3 separate regions of the Homo sapiens genome follow, and regions 1 and 2 are each linked to region 3. The links are contacts of gene promoters, found by promoter capture Hi-C in blood cells and fetal thymus (Javierre and others, 2016). All regions are on one chromosome and are shown on one strand. The core of a region is centred on a gene start or on the middle of the fragment in contact, and the rest is flanking DNA. Distances in the headings are between cores, read along the strand shown.

Region 1 (4,471 bases), core at 240-2,739, 5.1 Mb before region 3:
TATATCGGTTTACTGTTGATAGTTCTGATAATTATGTTCATAAAATTACAAAAAAAAAGTGAATTAACTTATACAGTATTTTAGCACTGTTGGTTCAAAATGTTTTTAGATTACACGTTTTTAACAGTTTGGCAATTTATGTGTCATTTCCTCCATTGATATTAACAAACCATCGAAAATATTAATGAGTCTAAACATATGACAAATATTAGATGCCAATATACAATGTTTGTGCTTCATTCTATATAAAAATGTGATGAGTCTTGTCTCATTTAACATGTAAACCGGAGGTTAACTTCTCATAAACTCTGGAAACGCTTAAAGAAAAAAAGCAAAAATTATTTTAAAGCCAGAAATGTTTTCCTTAAGAGCTGCCCATCTAAATGTGCTCCAAATTTTCAAATGGAGCCGCAACACTGGAATAACGAGTTTTGAAACACAATCCGGTAACACATTAACATGTCAAACCAGTTGACTGTACTTAAAACACCTATCTAGTTGCATTTGAAAGTCGTTTTGGTCTCTGAAAGCTCCAAAAAAAAAAAAAAAAAGCTAGGAAGTGACTAGTAGGTGCAGTATAACAAAGCTGAGGAAGATCTTCCTTTCATGAGACCTGACTTGACACAAACTTGGGTATTCCTGGGGTCAGTCTTTTCCTTCCTGAGACTTTTGGAGGCCAAGTCCAGAACCGACCCACCCCTGACCCCATCCAAGGGTACCATGATTATCCCTTAGCAGAACATGGAATATTTTCGGAGTGTCGTAAGTGTATGGATAGTTTTACGGTACAACGTCTACATAGTGGGAGAGGGCAACAGAGGGTTAGAGGTTAGAACTGAAAGGTAAAAAAATGCAAGAAATTTAGGAAATCCAAGAGACAGACTGCCAATTAAAGTCACTAAAATGGGTCTCCAATTACACCGTAAAGCAGGGCCCTGGGAGAAGAGGAAAGAGTTTTTGTTATTTCCAAAATTTATAGGTGGGTGATTGCATTAGCAGCGGAGCAGCCGAGGTGGGGCCCTGACCAGGCACACGGATGAATGAAGGGATGTCCGCGACCTGATCTGAGAAACAAGAGTAGAAGCCTCGCGATATTTCATTCCCACCTCGCTCGCAACTAAGCCCAACCTTCTGGCAGTCCAAAGCCCTACGCGCTGACAGAAATAACCTCCTTAGCAGAAATGCACTGGTCTCGTTCCCTGCAGGGCATCAGAGCCCAGAGGGTGAGTGATCCGGGCAGGCTGCCCTAGGCTCCTTTCCCGCGTCCCAAACTACATCCCCTGCCTCGCCTCGGCCCCAAACGTCCTCCCTTCCACACACACCCTCCCTGGGCCCCGCTCCGGGGTGTGGAGAGCACTGCCGCCTCCTTATTACCGACCTCAGAGCTAAACTCATTATCTCTTCGCACAGAGACGTTCCTCTCAAGAACGATTTTAACCCCCTACCCAAGGCAGCAAGACGCCCACAGCCGTTCAACAGACACGAACGACCTCAGCGGCCTCAGGGACCTCCCACAACATAGACACTTTTGAGCTGGATTGGTTGAAATGTCGCTATGGTTCTGCCTATTAGGGGGCGGAAGCTTTACCAGTTCTATTTTCATTGGGTAGGTTTTACGTCAATCAAGGAAAAAAAAATTTTTTTTCTGTGCCCCGCCCACCTCCTAACGCCCCCCCGCCCCCCCAATCTAGGGCCGCTCTCGCCCTTCGGATTGGCTCGATGCGTTTTTCCCCGAATCCTTTGCGGGTCCGGCCTCCGATCCCTGTGTGGCTGTTTGGCGGGTGGGCGCTGTGTTCCTCTCTCGTAAAGCCGTGCGGTCTGTGGGCCGCCATTCAGAAACTGGATGGACAGCTTCGGCGGTGGGAAGGGAAGGGACATGCTGCAGGCCACCCTCCGGCTAGAAGGAGGGAGTACTTGAGGAACAAGGTCTGCGAAAATTGGCTGTGCTCTGTTCTAAAACTTGGAATGGCCTCAGTACCTGGGGAATGTGTTTAAAATGCAGACTTAAATGTCCGTTTCTCCATTCTAATTTCAGTAGGTATGAATCTGCGTTTTTACTCCTCACAAGCCTTCCAAGTGATTCTGAGGCAGGTGCTGTGGCTGTACTTGGATTATCACAGGGTTAGATTATCAGGCTATTTATGATTTAGCTGTATCTAAACCACCTTTCCCTCTCTTTCCTCCTTTGAACTGTTTGAAACGGATTTGTTCCCTTCTGTCTCTTATTTTTCAGTGCTGTAAGCTGTTAACACACATGAGACTGTCTTCACTACCAAACCAAGTCTCCTAAAGCTCACTTGAATGTCTGCTTATTCGTGTCTCTTACTAGGTTCAATTTCTTGGAGGCCGTGATTATATCTATTTAACGCTTTTCCTTGTACCTAATAAAATGTCTGGTGCGTAGGTGCTCGGTAAATTGAGTGGAATCTTTTGAAAATCCACAAAATACTGAGCTAAACAGCAAATCTCATAAACGTGAATAAAATAGCCTGAGGATGGGAGTTGAAGGCGGAGAATATATAAACATTATATGTTTAAGGGATGTATATAAAATTTTAGAGAAGGGAGAGAACACAAGATATGCTTCTTAAAGGAGGTGACATAAACGTTAGACCTAGAAGGATGGGCTAAATTTGCACAAGGAAAGATAGTATGATAGAATAAGCTAAAAATTAGCTAAGGGATAGCACCCCTAAAAAACAAAAGTGGAACTTTTATTTTGTTCGTATTTTAAATTTTAAAGTACCTTTATAAATCACCTTTGAGTCTAAAAGGAAAGAGAAATTGTAGTTACTAGAACATAATGATATTGAAAAAAACTATATGTTAAAATTTTAAGATACAGACCAAGTTATAGGAGAACATTATTTTAAATAAGAAAGAATAAAAATAGGCCAAGCATTTATTTGAAGATGTTAGAAACGAAGAACAAATTGTATAATTGAAATTAGGAAGAGGAAATTAGTAAAGATAAAGTTTGAGAACAGTGTTTTAAAAGGAAATTGGTAAAATTGATAAAGTACTCATAATCTAGTATAAAGCTGGTTTTTGGCAATACCAGTGAAATTCAAAGACTTATAGGAAGTGTAACAAGAAAAGGAATAGTGCCACTAGTAAGGTTGGTAATTTAATAAAAGGGAGGTTTAAAAATTATTAAAATATTTTATACAATTTTATACCGCCAATAAATATTAATAGAAAATGAAATAGTCACTTTTCAAGGAAAACATAACTCAAAAAAGGTGGAAAACTGAATTAAGTCAATAACTACAGACAGGACTGGAACAAAGATGCCAAAGTTCTGTACTCACAAATAAAAAGCCTCCAGCCCACTCAGATTTATGATTAAAAATCATAAGAGCTAAATCTTGTGCTTTAAACTCAAGTCATAGAAAATGATGGAGAGCTTCTTAGCTTAATTTTTGAAGCTGCCATAATCTTTCACATCCTAAAAGAACATTTAAAGTCACTCAGTGTAAGCTCAGTGATGATGAAGGCTATGCATGTTTCTCACCATTGTATCCCCAGTGCCTGACTCATGTTTGATGTTCATTTGTGAACTTAAGTGCAAAATTCCTAGATGTTAGCAAAGTCAGTTTGATACTGTCTTAAAGGAACATTTCTCTATAACTAAATTGAGTTTTTTTTTGTTAAGTGCAAAGATAATTCAAAATATAAATCTGTGTTAAATAATTATAATGTTAGGTTAAGGAAATCATCTCAGTGTCAAAAAGGCACTGAATAATAGGTAACACCTTTTCTATTAGGATATAAAGTGGGTTTAGAAAATACTTTTTTAAATATGATCGGCAGAATACTTAAACACCAGTGTTTCTCAAACCTCATTCCTGAAACACTAGGATTTTGTGAGATGCTTTTGGTCTCAGAGTGCGTTTTATAAGCAAATAATTTGGGCAAACAGATTTTAAAAGGTTTTCAATAGGGTGTCCTTTTAAGAGAGTGACAGGGAATTTACACGCATCACTTTTATTATATTTAATTAGTGAGAACTAGTGACAACCACTTCTTGCTTCACGGGAGGTTGAGGCAAGAAATCTCTAGATGGAAAACTGCTCTGCTGAAACTTGGGGTCTAATCATCTATTACTAAAGATAAGACAGGTGGTTACACTAATTATATTTTAAACCTAAATTTGATGCAATCAAAATTCTCATATTTTTCTTGAATTGAACAAAGGTATTCCAAAGACCATCTCAACAACAATTCTATAAAAATAACTTACTAAACTGTGAAAAAGAATAATAATACAAAAATTGCTGTATGGGACACTAAAATGTATTTGGTACAATGGTAATCAGACCAGAAATTCCAGAGACAGCCAAATGTAAATAAAAATGTCTGCTTTGAAAAGGTAGTGACATAAATATTTGTTTAGTCTGCCTCCTAAAGCCTTAATAAATCAAGAGTTCCTCTATCACCCACGCTGGAGTGCAGTGGCATAACTCACTGT
Region 2 (3,992 bases), core at 228-2,727, 5.3 Mb after region 3:
TTCCCCGCAGGGACTCGAGGTGCGCTCCTTTTCCTGGCCACGGTTTAGGGAGGCTCGGAGATGGACACCTCGGCAGTATCTGGCGACCCTCTTCTCACTCGCTCCGCCCACTCCTGCTCTCCAGGGTCCCAGCCAAGGGCCCGAACCCTCGGAGTCCTAGTGAGCCTTGGCCGCTTTGTCTGGGATCAGGCTTATCCTCCTAGCCCACGGCCCGGGAGGGAACAAAGAGCCTCGACCCTCAAGCTCTAGCCTCTGCCTCTCATCGGAGCCCCATGCGCCCATTCATCACCTTTCTAAAGACCCCTTTGTCTGCCTGGCAAGCACAGGTCTGCAAGGGATGCCCACGCCCCTGCCCAAAGTCCTGCTTTTCTAACAACTGAGCTAGATTGGATTTTCAAGCCACCCAGTCTTGTGTAAACGACCTCATACCGGTCTTTTTTACCCCCTCAGAATAGACCATGTATAGATTCGTTGATGCATGACGACCATTCCAGCCCATTCCTTGCTAGCTTTTTCATTCTCTTCCAGTCCGCTTTGACTGTGCTACTGTTTTCCTGGTTTTCTACAGAATAGCAAGTCCTTCTGTAAGGATCAACCTGCATCTTGCTCGCTTAAATAAATGCTTATTACCTAGGGAGCAGGAATATTAAGAAATGGAGTGCAGGAAGTTTAAGAGCATGTGTGTGTGTTAGCAGTCCCATCTCTCTCTCTCTCACACACACATACACACACACGCAAGGGCTGTTTTCTTTGTTTTAATCAATGTCAGAGAAAAATATAAACTGGGCAGGCATCTCTGCTGGTGTGTAGTTTCTGATAGAGGACGCCTCCAAACCGGAACAGGGAGGATTTCCGAAACAGGACTTTGAATAGAGTTGACAATCAGGTTCACATCCTCAGAAAAAGCCTTCCAAGCTATGTCAGCAACACAAAGTTGCACCACCTCCTGGGTAAACTTCAAAGACACAGAGGCCAGCGGGTGGAAGGAAGTGTGATATTTAGAGAACTTAGTGGGGCGGGGGAGAGTCTGAACTCATCTAGACAAACTAAAAAAAATAGCAGAAATATAGTCTGTGTGAAGCTACAGTACCCAGTTTCTTTCTAAAACTGTAACCATGACGCCCATGCGTTTTAGCCGTAGAAGAACAAATAAGGAAGTATCCTTAGTGGTACTGGAGTTTCTAATTCAAATTATAACACATTAATCTATCCAACGTCAAATAGAAAAAAAAAAAGTAGAGAAACAGAGTATACCTATTTCCTGCTTTCTAAGCTTTAACTTCAGCCCTTCGAGAAACCATCTATCTCCAGTATCTCCTTAGGTGATAGGACATTGAAAACAGGCAACCGTTTGGTGAATAAAGACATTTCTCTTGAGTTCTGCCCACAGATTAAAAGGACAAGGACACACGTTCTTTGTTGACACTTCTGCAGTGACTTCTCCTTTGGCGAGAGAGCACCCAGGGCCAACACAACTGTCACCACAACCACACAGAGCAAGTTGAACTCATACTGGGAACAGCTTAGAGAAGCACGCACATCTCAACAACAGCCTTTGTTATTTAATTCATGACACTAACCACGCGCAAGCTCAAACAAACACACATGCTATCCTAACCATCACTCTACCCTCTATATTCACATTTCATTTATGGCTTGACTTTTTGTCATATCCTGAAATGAAGCTTTGCATTTACCCGATGAGTTGCGTCTCCTGGTGCTCCTCAGTTCTTGCTATTTCTTTTGTCTTATAAAAGATCAGGAGCAGACTTATTGTGCAGATCGTCCACCTCTTCCTAATGGAGCGCATCTTGGGTGCCCGAGAAAGTCCTGGTTGCCCCAGCTCCCGCACCTTCTCTTGATATAAAGGCTCCGTTTTGGGGAGATAGTCGCGGGGGTGAAATCTGTAAAATGCGAGGAGAGCTTGGAGCCGGGATCCCGGGATCAGATCACTGGGGTCTTCTGTGGCCGAGCTCCCTCTGGTCCTCGAACGCTGCCCAGCGACCTCTCGCCCTGTTTGCGCCAGCTCTGCCAGGGTCGCTCCGCGCCGCCTCCCTGGGGCTCAGGTTTCTTTTCAGATGAGACACCTTGTGCATTGGAGGTGGCGGCAGCTTCTGCAGCTGGGTTCGGGGGCGTCACTGGCCCTTCCCTCTTGCTAGGAGATAAACGCTGCGCAAAGCCAATCACCAGGCTGAGGGGGCGGAGGCTGCTTGGAGAGTAACGTCCCCGGCTCTGCCTGCTCTGTGCCGGGAGAGGAAGCTCACAGTGCTACGCGCCTGCGAGCTCGCGCACATACACATATACATACATACACACATACATACATATGCACACACACGTACACGCAGAATCACACACACTCTCCTGGGACATCAAAGCATCAGCTCTCTGGACCTGGGAGCTCCAAGATAGTCTATCCGCATCTAGGTGAGAGGGCACCTCGCCTGGGGACAGATTACAAAAGCGTCCCGCCAGAGGAATGCTTCAGGTAGAGCTAGGGGTGGATTGCAAGAAGAGTACCTTCTTTCAATCGCTTTTGCTAAACACACACCCTCACACGCAAAAACACGCCCTCCAAGGTGGAGTGAAACGGGGTGCGGGGGTGGGGACGGCGGTGGAAGGAAGAAGACTTTTATTACTCAATCTGGAAAGTGCAAATACACACATGAACCTGTTAGCCGATGGGCCCACTCTGCATGGGTGGTGGACGACGACCCTGGCTCAGGATTCTGCAGGAAACAAGTGATGATAGAGGTGTCATTAGGAACTTTATGGATATTTATGCGCCTCCCTTTCATTGCCATTTGGAAACTCCTCACGCAGAAGTCAAGGAAACTCCAATCCCACTTAAACTTCATTGCGGAGAAACAGAGTTCTGAAAAAAAAGCAGCTACCATGGACCTCTCTTTTAAACGCAAGTACACCCACACACATTCGGATACCAAGGAAGGAAGGAAAGAAAGAAAGGAAAGAAAAGGGAGGGGAGGAAGGAAGAGCAAAGTCCTCTCTAAAAGTCTCAATTATATATATAGCCTCTGATTGTCACCTCTCCTCCGTCCCACCATTTTTCGTACTTGTATTGGGTGGCAGGGACACTTTTCAAGAGTTCTGTGTTCGATTGTTCACTCTGAGTACCTCTCCACCATCCTCCAGTCGTTGCCCTCATTGGGAGAGATGCTTGCTACTCTGCTAGTACCACGCCTTGGTTCCGGTCTTTACTGTTGGCTGGTAGGTCGGGAGGCACCTCTAGCATGAGACAGTGTCTGGAAGCCAGGATTTCCCTCATCTATATGCGCCGGTCCCCAGCTCCCTGGTCGCCAGGGTTTCTCTCCAGTTGAATTCCGTGTTCCTTCAGGTTGAACAGTAGCTTCAGCGGTTTTTCACGCTCAGAAATGATGAGGCCCAATTCCAATCTTCCCTCCCGCCGGAAGTAAGAAGGGGAATTCTGAGTTGCTTGTCGCCTGACAGCTTAAAATAGCAACGAAAACAGCCAGCATCTTTGCTTAAAAACCCAAGGTTCCCGCCAGTGTTTACCATACTTCCTCTAGAGTTTAAGAAGTTAAGAACTTCCGAGATCTTGAATTTCCTCTTTGCAGCACAGCGAACGGGGTCGGGTATAAAAATGCTCCAAGGAGCAAGTAATTACGAACGTTTATTGACACTACAAGTGGCCCACAGGGAGCCTTTCGAGTTTATTGATGTCTAGGCAAATCCAGCCTGCATTAATGCATTTCTGTTAGATTGACTTCTGTTAGACTCACTTTTCTTCTGGCAAAAACTGCCAGAATAAAACAGCTTCTTATTTAAGTTAAAAGGGATCCGGGGCTGAGGGCAGGGGTCGGGTGGGAGAGGGATGCATGGTTAGGATGCTAAATTCTCAAGGATAAACTTTGATTTTTAAACAGTAGACAACTATATTTTAGATTATAGGTAAAACATCACTCTCTGTCAGGGATAGAGTAATATGCATCGTTTCATTAAACTCATTATTT
Region 3 (4,516 bases), core at 261-2,760:
GCTCTTGTTGCCCAGGCGGAGTGCAAAGGTGCGATCTCAGCTCACTGCAACCTCCACCTCCTGGGTTCAAGTGATTCTCCTGCCTCAGCCTCCCTAGTAGCTGGGATTACAGGCGCCCGCCACCACGCCCAGTATTTTGCGTATTTTTCGTAGAGACGGGGTTTCACCATGCTGGCCAGGCTGGTCTCGAACCCCTAACCTTCGGTGATCCGCCCGTCTCGGCTTCCCAAAGTGCTGGGATTACAGGCGTGAGCCACCGCGCCCAACACTGTTTACGTTTTTGCATGCTCCCGCAGATCTTTATCATGCTGCTTGAGTAACAATTCTGCTACACTAACAGATAAACTAACTGCAGACAGAGCATTTAGTGAGTTACGGCACAGACTCTTCAATTTTCAGTCGTGCTCTGACTGGCTCCCTGTGTAAACTCAGGCCAGTCATTTAACCTCTCTAAGCCTGTTTTCCTATCTGCAATATGGTGAAAGTGAGGATTATAGAAAATATTCCATATAAAAGTACGTGGCACGCAGCAGATGCTCAGTAAATGCTTAGTATAACGCTCAGCACCTAAGTGCCATGTGAGTATTAAATAAACAAATCTGTTCCTTACTACAATTATCTTAGGCAAAAAAAAACCTGCCAGATATTAGTATTCAGTTGACTTAAGTAAGTAGTATAACTCCTCTTTTAACTGTCAGAATATTAAAACTACTAGTGTGATGTGCAAATTATATACCCGAAACTAGATACAGAAATTGGAATTTGGCTTTGGGACAGAAATCTGCTTCTTCCAGAACTCTCCAAAGGAATTCAACAGTCAAAAGAGACCGGTTTTTATTCTGCAGCAAAACAATGATATTCTGAACCTACGTCAACTAACTGAACATGTCACACAGCCCATTTCCCCCTCCAGTTTCGCTTATCTCCTTTGCTCTCTGAAGGCAAGGAACAGCTATGCTTTCCCCTGCCTACAGCCTGAAACTTCTTACTAGGCCCCGCTCCTCGCCCCATGGGAGCACAGTAAATCCTGACTGCACGGGGTAAGAGAAGCAATAAGATGAGACAGGCTAGAGATTTCCCTGGGAAGGTATTCGGGGGGGTCTAAGGCATTCACGGCGCACCTGAGGCGGTCCACCCAGAGGCCCCACAAGGCACCGCCCTATTCAACTTAAGTGACAGCCGCGCCGCCACCTCATCGCCGCCCAGTTCACGCTCTCGCCGAACACTCAGCCACGCTTGCGCGGCCCAAAATGAACAGCCCCGGCCCCGATCCTTTCTTTCTCTAAGTACCATTTCAATCGCCTTTAGGATCCCTTGTGCAAAACCGACAGAAATCCAAACCCACCTGGAGCAGATGCTCCTCTTCTACAAACGCCGAGGCTGCAATGAGAGCGCATGCGCCTTTCCCAGGACTCATTCACGTGACTGGAAGTGGCTGGGTTCTGATTTGCTCGGTATTTGATTAAAAGGTCTTAACGTGGGTAAAAGCGGGAATTTCTCTGTTGCGCATGTGCGCGCTCTCCGCCTGATAGGAGTTGTAGTTCTGCGGGTGAAGCTCGGCGTTACTATCAAGCAACCAAACTGCAAGCTTTGGGAGTTGTTCGCTGTCCCTGCCCTGCTCTGCTAGGGAGAGAACGCCAGAGGGAGGCGGCTGGCCCGGCGGCAGGCTCTCAGAACCGCTACCGGCGATGCTACTGCTGTGGGTGTCGGTGGTCGCAGCCTTGGCGCTGGCGGTACTGGCCCCCGGAGCAGGGGAGCAGAGGCGGAGAGCAGCCAAAGCGCCCAATGTGGTGCTGGTCGTGAGCGACTCCTTCGTAAGTACCGCGAGGCAGGGGAGGGGCGCCCCGCTGGGGATCGGCGACCTCACCGCCGCCGCCTGTGCTGCAGGCTTTGGGGAGCAGAACCTGAGACATTTTCAAACACCTTTTACCCCGATGCAAAGAAAGAAATACATTTTATGTGAGGCCCCGTGTACTCACACGTACACCACATACCTATGCAAACATGTAAAACAATAGTGAAACACTGAAAACATCTTTGCAGATCTTTTTTTTTTAATACTGACCTCGATTCGCTAAATTATTTTACCACGACTAATGAACTTTCAGTCCATACCCCCGTTTGGTTTAATTGTGTGGTAAAATAACATTCTGCATCTCCATAAAAGCGTGTTAGCTTTCCAAAAGTCATTTTCCAGTTCACCTCAAGTTTGCAGGAATTCATGTTTGGGTGAGAAGTGAAGAAAGTTTATTTTTATTACCCAGGTCTGTGATAATCCTGTTAGTGCTGATTCAAATGGAATCGTTGGTATAACTTGATTCACTCCCCCGTATTCCAGAGAAATTGTGTGTATGTGTGTGTGTTGGTAATGTGGCTGAATCCCAAACTTAAACAGTTTTTGAAACTTTCCCAAGCCAAAGGTGCTACTGTCAACCTTACGCGATGCTTTTAGGATGATCCATGTTTTAAAAAGTGCTGCTTAGACAATTGTTTGGTTATTAATTGTAATATTAGTTTATTATCACTCGGTGTTACTGTGGTCACACAGATGTTGGTGTTAAGCATATCTGGCACTAAAGAGTGTTTGTAATCATATGTTGTATTTCCTTTCTCGTAGATTCCTGATGATTAAAATTACATAGTCTGGATGTGCCCATGGGATTTTTTGAAAATATTACTTAAAGTTATCTTTGTGATTTAAACTTAGAGAATGGGCAGTACTGGAAATTGACTAGATGGCATTTTATTACAGAGTGCTCTTGTAATCAAAGGCAAATGAAGGAAGCAGGATTGTGCAGAGGAGAAGCTGAATTTTGTTGCCATCTTATGAATGACAGTTCTCAAACTAGTATGGTGCTTCAGAGCTGCTTTCCAATAGGAGTGAGGAGAACAGACCTTTCCACCTGCATGTTGGATGGCCACTGGTTGTGGGCTGCTCCTAGAATGGGGCATGGTGTTGGGCAAAGCAGCTGTCTTCAGCAGAGGCAATTGTTCATTCCTAAAAGGGAATCCGAATGTGGATCACAACATCCCAGAAACTTCCAAAGATGACTGAGATATATAGGTTTGTTATTTTTTTTAGTGTAGTATGAATGCATAGATTTTTCTATATTTGTGCTTAAATTTTTTGCATTCACGGCCGGGCGCGGTGGCTCACGCCTGTAATCCCAGCACTTTGGGAGGCCGAGGTGGGCGGATCACGAGGTCAAGAGATCAAGACCATCCTGGCTAACACAGTGAAACCCCGTCTCTACTAAAAATACAAAAAAATTAGCCGGGCGTGGTTTCGGGCGCCTGTAGTCCCAGCTACTCGGGAGGCTGAAGCAGGAGAATGGCGTGAACCTGGGAGGCGGAGCTTGCAGTGACCTGATATCGCACCACTGCACTCCAGCCTGGGCGACGGAGCGAGAGTCCGTCTCGAAAAAAAAATAAAAATAAAAATAAAAAAATTTTTAAAAAATAAAAAATAAAAAAAATTTTTGCATTCACATACTTGTTAATATTCAAACTGTCCTATCTTTGGCCAGTGGAAGCCCCTTCAGGTGGTTCTGAGTCCTTTTGACCCATCCCCATTAGTATTTGACAGCTTGCTTTAACAGAGTTCCATGTCCACAATACATATTTCCTGTCCCATCTTGTATTTAGAGACCACAGTCTGAGTGTTAGGGTGTTCATTGCATCTAGACCTTTCCAGTGGACAAATCTAGAAAGTATATAATATTTTAGAATGAGAAAAATAAATTGTGAGATCATACTGATACTTTCCATTCAAATTTAAGATTACAAGTTTATTCTTTGATTTTTATACTTATATCTTTTTTGTTTTATGCCAAATATTTTGGTCTAAATGCATTAATGCAATTACTTATTTGCTTTATCCAAACATATAATATGTATATATCAATGTGTTTGAAAATAAGACTGTAATATTACTAGAAATAATGCTAGTCCTGAGTGCAGCTTACAGTTTCTTTGAAGTTTTTGTTTTAGGTATATTCAACTATATAGTAAAAATGTTGGTCTTTAAACTTAAAATAATTCCTCTCTCTATGATTATACCAGTTTGGTATGCTGTTAGATTCTTGACACTGTGATTTATCATTTCTAAAACTCTGCAGGCTAAGATAGAGCAGTTAAGCTGGATAATAATTGTAGGAAGAAAATAGCAAATTGGTTTTACTTTCAGGATAACAACGCAAGAGCTTTGTAGATCAACTCCCAAGAAAACAAGCAAACCAAATGAAAACTCTTTTTTAAACTATACATAAAAACTATTAAATATTTGAAACACTTAAAGTGTCTGGAAACTGTCCTAAGGTCATACACCAAATGAAGAAACATTTATTCAAGAAAATCTATGAAAACTTGGTAAGAATAGCAAGAAGGGTCTGTGGCAGTGAACTATAGTTTTGACAGAGGTTTCACTCAGGTGGGTGTGGCCAAGAAGATAGGACTACTCCCCCTCGGCTCCCAATCACCAGTTATGGTATCTCACCAAAAGGGACAGGCTGTGAGA

Evidence for each region. The method cuts DNA at HindIII sites, captures the fragments that hold promoters and counts their contacts. A CHiCAGO score of 5 or more calls a contact.
Region 1: the fragment with the promoter of CETN3 here is called in contact with the fragment with the promoter of ARSK in region 3 in 1 of 17 cell types (fetal thymus); the score reaches 5.8 in fetal thymus.
Region 2: a fragment that was not itself captured here is called in contact with the fragment with the promoter of ARSK in region 3 in 6 of 17 cell types (total CD4 T cells, total B cells, activated CD4 T cells and 3 more); the score reaches 11.7 in total CD4 T cells.

What each region holds. Positions count from the first base shown.
Region 1 is chr5:90,408,267-90,412,737 of GRCh38, forward strand. It overlaps CETN3 (centrin 3), which reads right to left and starts at 1,490. Exons shown (of 5, transcript NM_004365.4): 1 at 1,379-1,490. The coding sequence starts at 1,395. LOC731157 (a long non-coding RNA gene) reads left to right here and starts at 1,734. Exons shown (of 2, transcript NR_105024.1): 1 at 1,734-2,038; 2 at 2,234-2,403. RefSeq lists an enhancer at 1,260-1,459. The HindIII fragment of the contact is 6,726 bases long and covers 1-1,580 here.
Region 2 is chr5:100,901,146-100,905,137 of GRCh38, forward strand. It overlaps ST8SIA4 (ST8 alpha-N-acetyl-neuraminide alpha-2,8-sialyltransferase 4), which reads right to left and starts at 2,137. Exons shown (of 5, transcript NM_005668.6): 1 at 1,698-2,137. The coding sequence starts at 1,810. It overlaps LOC107986437 (a long non-coding RNA gene), which reads left to right and starts at 2,263. Exons shown (of 2, transcript XR_001742825.3): 1 at 2,263-3,992. RefSeq lists enhancers at 1-87, 1,225-1,794, 2,280-2,519, 3,300-3,539. The HindIII fragment of the contact is 412 bases long and covers 1,272-1,683 here.
Region 3 is chr5:95,553,591-95,558,106 of GRCh38, forward strand. ARSK (arylsulfatase family member K) reads left to right here and starts at 1,511. Exons shown (of 8, transcript NM_198150.3): 1 at 1,511-1,814. The coding sequence starts at 1,689. SKIC3 (SKI3 subunit of superkiller complex) reads right to left here and starts at 1,387. Exons shown (of 43, transcript NM_014639.4): 1 at 1,346-1,387. The HindIII fragment of the contact is 6,579 bases long and covers 1-1,586 here.